Linked DNA regions of Homo sapiens: regions 1 and 3 are each linked to region 2. Evidence: promoter capture Hi-C in 16 types of primary human blood cells and fetal thymus (Javierre and others, 2016). All regions are on one chromosome and are shown on one strand. Each heading gives the region's core, a stretch centred on a gene start or on the middle of the fragment in contact. The rest is flanking DNA. Distances are from core to core; before and after follow the strand shown.

Region 1 (2,700 bases), core at 33-2,532, 150 kb before region 2:
AAAAGGAATAACTAAACCTGAAACTCCTAATCATAACCAAAAAGACTTCAGAGTACAAACAGGGACAAGAATGCTGCTGGCCTTTCAAAGATGGGGCCCAATTCAGCTGGCACAGACAACAGCTTCTGTTCTGCATGATGACACCAGGGAGCACGGCGCCATCCTGGGAGACAGCAGTGCCGCTCTCAGAACTCACAGTCAATGGTAATTATGTTTGTCAGTTTTTTCACTGTCTCCAATAATTTAATAACCCATGCTATTTGTCTAAAAACAGAAAAACATAAAACTTTTATTTTATATTTTATTTGTGAAAAGAAAATCCAACTAAGTTCTCATGTAAGATGCTCACTTTTTTATACTACTGTAAAGTCAAATTCATACAAGAAAAAAAAAAAACCTGCACAGACTGTCGTCAGTACAGATAAGCCAGGGACAACGTGAAAACCCTTCTATGTGAGTATAGGCAGTGGACTTAATTGAGACTTGAAGTCAGGCTTAGCAATGTCCAATCACTCAAAACTATGTAGGGGCACCATCCACACTTAATGCTTAAACACTGTTTGATGTTGCCAAACTTCAAAGAAACAACTTCACTCACAACATAATTTTTTTTTTTTTTTATGAGATGGAGTCTATCTCTGTCGCCAGGCTGGAGTGCAATGGCACAATCTCAGCTAACTGCAACCTCCGCCTCCTGGGTTCAAGTGATTTCCCTGCCTCAGCCTCTCAAGTACCTGGGATTACAAGCACACACCACCACGCCCAGCTAATTTTTTGTATTTTAGTGGAGACAGGGTTTCACCATGTTGGCCAAGACAGTCTCAATCTCCTGACCTCATGATCCGCCCAACTCGACCTCCAAAAGTGCTGGGATTACACGCGTAAGCCACCACACCTGGCCCACAACATAATTTTAAGAAAAATTGCAATAATTATTTCATCCGAACATAAACAGGAAGTTGCAATTTGAAAGAAAAACCTCTAGTGGTAAAACTGTAACTAAAGTGTATTTTACTTTAACTATAAATGTTATTTTTATTTTGTTTTTCATGAATGAAACAGCTATCTTTAAAATCCCCATTAACAAGATTCTTTTCTACTTCATATGTCCCAAAACTTGTTTGAGGTTTCATAACGGGTTCAACTGGCATTCCCAGGGACTATCAGGCGCTACTCCAGAATTATTGGACCTGGGCAGAAAGGAACGGAAGGCCAGAAAAGAATCTGATTCGCCATCAAGGACCTTAACGTTTGATGGCTATAGATTTAAAGGTTCATGCTGATAAGACAAATACTCTAAGGACAAGTATTATTAATTTAAATTGTCATTTACTTACATCTTAGCACTTCCACAATCAAGTCCACATCAGTGCTGAGCTTCTTGATGTGGTCGAGGTTAGCCACCGTTGTGATTGGCACATACTGGTCACTATCCATCTGTGATATAAGATACATGTCACTAGCAAGGTTCTCCCTGTTGAAAGAAAACAATCTCTTTTAATCAGTATTTCTTTAAAAGGAAGTTTCACCTACTGTAATTCCAGTTTCACAAGAGGCGTGAGTGTGGCATGGTATTGCTTTGGAGTTAAATCTCAGCCCAGGACCCATCTGTTATTTGCTGTCTCTCCAGCCTCAGGTACATTTTTGCAAAATCTCGGCCTTGGAGAGGCAGGGAGTGCAAAAGTAAAAGTATACTGTACTTTCTACAATCAAAATTTATGAGAAGATGGTTATTTTTAAATAAGATGTAATTATTTATAGCTGTCATTTTTGTCCTAAGAAGTAGCTTAAGAGTTTATTAAAAATGCATACAATTTTGTTAGGCCGGGCACGGTGGCTCACGCCTGGAATCCCAGCACTTTGGGGGGCCAAGGTAGGCAGATCATCTGGGTTCAGGAGTTTAAGACCAGCCTGACCAACATGGTGAAACCCCATCTCTACTAAAAATACAAAAATTAGCCAGGCATGGTGGCGGGCACCTGTAATCCCAGCTACTCGGGAGGCTCAGGCAGGAGAATCGCTTGAACCCGAGAGGTGGAGGTTACAGTGAGCCAAGATCACACCACTGCACTCTAGCCTGGGCGACAAGAGTGAAACTCTGACTCAAAAAAAAAGAAAGAAAAACAATTTAAAGTAAAGAAATCCAGCTCAATGAACAAGAAAGGAAAACATAAAAAGGCCAGGATAAGGTCATACCCAAAATTCCTCCTGTAGACTCTGGAACACTCACCAGAGGGCCTATATCCAGCCCTGGCTTCCTAGCAGCCAGAATTAAAAAGAAGGAAACAGTAACTTTACCCACAAAATCCAAAGGTGAGCCACAAATCATCAGCAGTTTGGGCCATGATGAGCTATTTTCTGGTGTTTTGGCCAAAGATCAATGTTTCCTGTGAATTCTCAAGGCATCATGTAATGTAGTGAACAAGGCCCTAAGAAACATTTCAAAACTGAGCACAGTGCTGGGTTCCTGGGGCCTCTGCTCAGTGTCCCTCGGTGAAGGCCCATGACTGCCGATCAAACGGAGGCCATGCAGGAGGAGGCCCTGCTCCACCCTCATCTCGGCCATCTTCCAGGTGTAGCTGATTCTGGCCCCATGGGGCTACACATGGATGTGAGTGGCAGAGAGCTCACACTTGTGCTCCACTAGGGCGTTCCACTGGTGCCCCTGCACCTTTTGCGTCTACCATGTCATGGTGCGGT
Region 2 (2,710 bases), core at 113-2,612:
GAGGAAACATACAAGAACCTAAAAGAAAGGGCAATAAGTATGAGCATAGCTTTGCTAATCTCGGAAATGGTGGCCAGAACTGTCCTGTGGTTTAGCAAATGATCATAGCCAGCAAATCCTAATTACCCTAGAAGCTTCCTTTAGAAGTGCCACAAAGATGTAGGAGGTATGCTTATCCGCCTTGTGACACAAAAATGGAAGCATAGTTAATAGATGAGAAAAGCATGACCCAGAATGATTTTCAATATTGGAATGCTGGGAATTTATGAGAGGTATTTTCGCGTAAGAATAATAGGACTTGTTTAAAAGGATTGGAGAGTGGGGGGCATCCCAGATGCGTGAGAAGCAGTATAGCTAATGGTTAGAAGCAGGTTTGCTGGAGCCAGGCTGCCTGGGTTCAAAGCCCACCTCTGCTGCCTGTTAGCTTGTCAGCTGCACAACCACGGGGTGCTTTCGAGCCTTGTGTGCCTTTGTTTCCCCATGCACTTCATGAGGCTGTTGCAGAAATTAAACGAGTTAATATATAGTCAGCAGCTCTGAACACTGCTTGACTGAGTCAGCCCTACCTAACGTTTAATTTAAGGGATGTGGCCCTGGGTTCCCAAAGGGAGCGGCCACTCTATTCACAAACATAAAAGCAGTAAAGGCTCCATCCTCATCAACCTTCTCCTCAGTTGGACCCCACAGGACTGTCTCTCGCAACTGTTCCCTGGGCTCTCCTAAGGCACTGCGCGGAACCAGCTGCACCTCTTTTGCCTTAGATCAGGCTTTCCCTTCTCCGCCCGTTTTGGGATTTAACAAGCACGAGAAAGCAGGGCTGCAGGGAAGCCGCGAGGGCCTCCTCACCACGGCCCGGGATCAAGTCCCACGCGCGAGGCCGGGGTAGGGGCGTCATCTGCTCCACACCCAGAGGCTGGGCACGCCCCGCACGCGCGGCTTCCTCCTCCTTTGCGGGGCTCGCCGCGACCCAGGACCCCCAGACTCCCGGATCCCCTAGACCCTCTGGACTCCTAAGCCCCGCAACTCCCAAATCCCAAGACCCCGGACCCTCCAACCCTGGCCCAGGGCGCGTGGCTGGGGGCCTGAACCCGCTCCAGAAACCCGCAGGGCAGTCTGTCGGAAACCCCCGCTTTACTCAGCAGGAATTTAGTCTCCGCGCTCCCCCTAAAACCCGGGCGTCCTCTCCTCTGTACCCTCGCTCCTGAGGCCCTCACACGCCCTCCGTGGCTGACCTCCAAGCCGGGCGGGTGCGCTGTGCGACGCGGAAAGCGCCGTAGAGCACGCAGAACACGATTGGCTGAGCTCCCGGAAGTGACGTACCTCAACCGCCCGACAGTGGAAGTCCCACCTGCGCCCGACGGCGGAAGTTCCGGGAGTGCCAAGTACCCGCGTGCATACGGCTGCCGGCATGGCACATTACAACTTCAAGAAAATTACGGTGGTGCCGTCCGCCAAGGTAGGCGGCCCCGGGAGGGCCACTGCAACTTTCGCGTTCTCCTCAGCTGGGTCCCCGGGGAGGGTCCGGGCCTGTAGCCGTGGGAGAGCGGTCGCCTTCCGCTCGCCCATCCCCCGCTCCTGGGCCTGACCGTCTGGCCGCGTACTCGGGATCATTTCCCCTCCCCCAGCAGAATCCGGGGTCCACCAGAGATCGGATCCCCCAGAGACCGGGGTCCACCTAAGACCGTGGTCCACCCAAAGACTGAGGGCCCCCAGAGATGGGGGTACACCCAGAGTTGGGTTCCCTGGAGGGGCCCCGGGTGACGATGTGGGCGAGTGGAGGGGGACCCCGACATGTGAGGGAGGAAGCGTTCCGTGGTCCGTGATGAGCCTTCGGATTCTGGGTTTGGCGTAGCCCCCTCCCCTCTCAGGAATCCTGGGTTCGTTGTTCTCGTGATTTAACGTTTCATAATTTTTAAGTCATTCTCTTTCACTGTTAGATTTGGGAATACCTGTTCCTTTTCAGACCATAGTAGGCCCAGACTAAATTTTTACAGCGTTGGTTGGTGTGGCAAGAATGAGTCAACAAGTGTTGAGTATTAGGACTTTTTTTTTTTTTTTTTTTTTTTGAGACATAGTTTTTCGCTCTTGTTTCCCAGGCTGGAGCGCAGTCTCGGCTCACTGCAACCTCCACCTCCCGCGTTCAAGCGATTCTCCTGCTTCAGCCTCCCGAGTAACAGGGATTACAGTCGTGCACCACCACACCCAGCTAATTTTCGTATTTTTAGTAGAGACGGGGTTTCACCACGTTGGCCAAGCTGGCCTCGAACTCCTGATCCCGGGTGATCCTCCCGCCCCGGCCTCCCAAAGTGCTGGAATTACAGGCGTGAGCCACTGCGCCCGGCCCTAGTATTAGGACTTTTAAGAAGTCACGTTTTTATGTAGTGAACATTCGATTTGGGTCGCAATTACACAGACATTGACGGGCAACTGGAGCCTCCCAGGGACTCCTGCACGAGAGGGAGTTACTGAAGTCCCTGCAGAGTGACTGTTTTCCCCTCGTCAGTGCCTCCTTTTCTTCAGGTCTCAAGGACGGGATGAGCTTGCCTTGGAAAGCTTTGTGGGAGTCTCGTATTTTACCTTCATAGCAAAAGTTGTTTCCCCACTTCTCTCCACCATTTCTTATTTCTTCCTGACAGTTGTTCTGGCACATCTCTTGATCGATTGTAGTATTTTCTTTCTTTCTTTTTGAGATGGAGTCTCGCTCTGTTGG
Region 3 (2,700 bases), core at 27-2,526, 190 kb before region 2:
ACTATGCATTCTACAAATATCTAATATCCAGAATCTATAAAAAAAGAAATCAACAAGCAAAAAACACATAAACCAATTTAAAAATGGGCAAAAGACATAAACAGACACTTCTCAAAAGAAGACACAAGTGACCAACAAATGTGAAAAAATGCTCCACATCACGAAACATCAGAGAAATGCAAGTCAAAACCACAATGAGATACCATCTCACACCAGTCAGAATGGCTATGCTTTCAGATGTTGAGGTTTTTTTTGAGACAGGGTCTTGGTCTGTTGACCAGGCTGGAAAGCAGTGGTACGATCACAGCACAGTGCAGCCTTCACCTCCTGGGCTTAAAAGGATCCTTTCACTTCAACCCCCTAAATGGCTGGGACTACAGGTGTGTGCCACCACACCCAGCTAATTATTTTTATTTTTTGTAGAGACGAGGCCTTGCTATGTTGCCCAGGTTGGTCTCAAACTCCTGGGCTCAAGCAATCCTTCTGCCTTAGCCTCCCACAGTGCTGGGATTACAGATGTGAGCCATTGTGCCCAGCCAGAATCGCTATTATTAAAAAGTCAAAAAACAACAGATGCTGGGAAGCTGCAGAGAAAAGGGAATGCTTATACACCGTTGGTGGGAATGTGGGCCCTGCGGTCCTGGCCTACAGGGAGACGCCATCCTACAAAATAAAATGTAGAAATGAACACTCCACCCCGTCCCACGTGGCTGCAAACATCAGAGTCCTTTGGGGATCAGCTGTGCACAGTAAGCCAGCAGTACTCCGATGTCCCCAGGACAGAAGTGTGGAACCACAGCAATTAGCCACTCTACCCACAACTTCCAGCCTGTGAGCCAGGGACAAGGATGACGAGCCTCAGGCCTCCAGGGGCGTGAACCCGGTGTGCTGCCCCAGGTCTCACAAGACCCCAGGACACAGCTCTGGCCTGTAGCAGCCAGGACCACCCTTCAGCCCCGTGCCGTCTGACACAGTCACGGCCACACAACACAAACTGTCTCCTTCATCATGTTTTACATAGATTGTGTTGAAATGGTCCTATTTTGGGCAGAGTCAAATAAAATATTTCAAAAATCGCTTCCCCTGTCTCCTGTTGGGCTTTTCTAGGGTAACAGGACGCTCCCACTCACACTGCAGGAGCCCCTCCAGAGTGGGGCTGGAAGCTTCTCTGGGTTTACTGAGAAGAGGGCCTGGGGTTCTTGCCTGTGGGGGTGTCTGCCTGGCACTCACCGGCCGGCTTGCTGACCTGCAGGAAGGCCTGCGCACCCCGGTGGGGCTGGCTCCCACAGGCCCAGCTCGGCATCCAGGCTGCAGCCATCTTGCAGCCCATATGGCAGTTCCAAGAGGGGGGTTGGCGGTTTTCCTCCCATGGAACGGCCAGCACACCGTGAAGCTTGTCTCCTCCCCACCCTGACCCAGTCTTCCCCGAGCCCTGTCTCTCCAGGTCCGGTCTTTCGGGCTCGAATGGCATCTAAACAGGGCAGGAAATACCTCCTCCTGCCAAAGCAGAGGTCAGGCGGGCGAAGGACACGAGGGTGGGGCCATCTGTTCAGGAAACGAAGGCGGCTTCTCCTGGAGACGTGGAGGGTCCACCTAGGTTCCTGCTGTCTAGACGGGTAGGGCCCATGATCCCCACCTCTCCACACCTCCCATCGGCTGTCCTGCCCTGTCCTGTCTGTGCACAGAAGGGAGGTGTGGGCACCGAGGCGGTCCTGGGCTGGGAGCATGCTCTGGCCTTTCTCACCTTGAAGCTCCTCGGGGCTCTGCACTAGCAGCCCACGAGATGTGCATGTTTCTAGGACAGGTGGCCCCTTAGACTCTGCCACGCAGGGCCCCTCCCAACTTGAGTCACTGGCAGGGCACCCCCCAGCTCACTCTGTGCCCTCTGCAGGCTCAGCCCTGCTGGGAGGGAGGGCCAGTCCTGTGCAGAGGGGCCACGCCACCTTCCCTCCCATTCGTGGCCAGTGGGAGTGAACACAGGGTTGGTGGGTGAGCCGCCTGTAGTTTAGAAGGAAGAAGCAAAAAATTTAACAAACTTGAAATGTAAAAATCATGATTTTTACAGAAATACTATGTTCTTAAAGCATTTAAGATGGTGAGCTCTGCCACCATTTTTTCATGTTTTTTATTTTACATTTAGGTTTGAGGTTTTCATTGTCATCATTAAGTTTCAGTATATTTTCTGCAGTCATCCACAAAAATGGGTCAGTAGCACAAAAGTGTTTCATCAGAACATAAATGTAACATAAATATTAGCTGGAACCATATAAAGTTGCTACTTGCTCACTTTGACCTCTAAAAACAGTAATTTCATCTGGCATGACCAAATACAACTGTAAGTAACATGTATGTTTACAAGCAAAGCTGACTGGGCTCTCCAAGCCACAGGGACAGCAAGATGAAGTTTGCAGGATGCAGCTGGTGACGATCACTCAGGGCATCTCTGAAAGTGGCTCTCCTGCGGCAGGGCCACCCACCCGGGAGGTCACAGCCGGGGTCACACGGAGCTGCAGGGTGGGGCGGGCTCTGCCTCTGCCGCTCCAGTGCGACAGCAGAGCAGCAGGCATGATGTGACACAGATGAGCCCGGCCCTGGCTCCTCAGGGAGGACCCTGTAGACCTACGCCGGGGATGGTGGGTGCCCTGAGGAAGGGTAACCTCCCCAGCAGGTCCCTCCACCAGGCGCCACCCTGAGGTCTCT

The links. Contacts are between HindIII fragments. The CHiCAGO score rates a contact against its expected background, and 5 or more counts as called.
Region 1: a contact is called between a fragment that was not itself captured here and the fragment with the promoter of GTPBP4 in region 2, in 9 of 17 cell types (monocytes, M2 macrophages, M1 macrophages and 6 more). The highest score is 20.0, in monocytes.
Region 3: a contact is called between a fragment that was not itself captured here and the fragment with the promoter of GTPBP4 in region 2, in 1 of 17 cell types (monocytes). The highest score is 7.0, in monocytes.

What each region holds. Positions count from the first base shown.
Region 1 is chr10:841,595-844,294 of GRCh38, forward strand. It overlaps LARP4B (La ribonucleoprotein 4B), which reads right to left. Exons shown (of 18, transcript NM_015155.3): 7 at 1,338-1,474. Among named protein-coding and RNA genes, the nearest start is that of LARP4B, 89 kb to the right of the region's middle. The HindIII fragment of the contact is 4,915 bases long and covers 1-2,700 here.
Region 2 is chr10:987,072-989,781 of GRCh38, forward strand. GTPBP4 (GTP binding protein 4) reads left to right here and starts at 1,363. Exons shown (of 17, transcript NM_012341.3): 1 at 1,363-1,456. The coding sequence starts at 1,409. It also overlaps a transcript of LARP4B not described here. The HindIII fragment of the contact is 2,419 bases long and covers 133-2,551 here.
Region 3 is chr10:801,831-804,530 of GRCh38, forward strand. No RefSeq gene overlaps it. Among named protein-coding and RNA genes, the nearest start is that of DIP2C, 110 kb to the left of the region's middle. The HindIII fragment of the contact is 230 bases long and covers 1,162-1,391 here.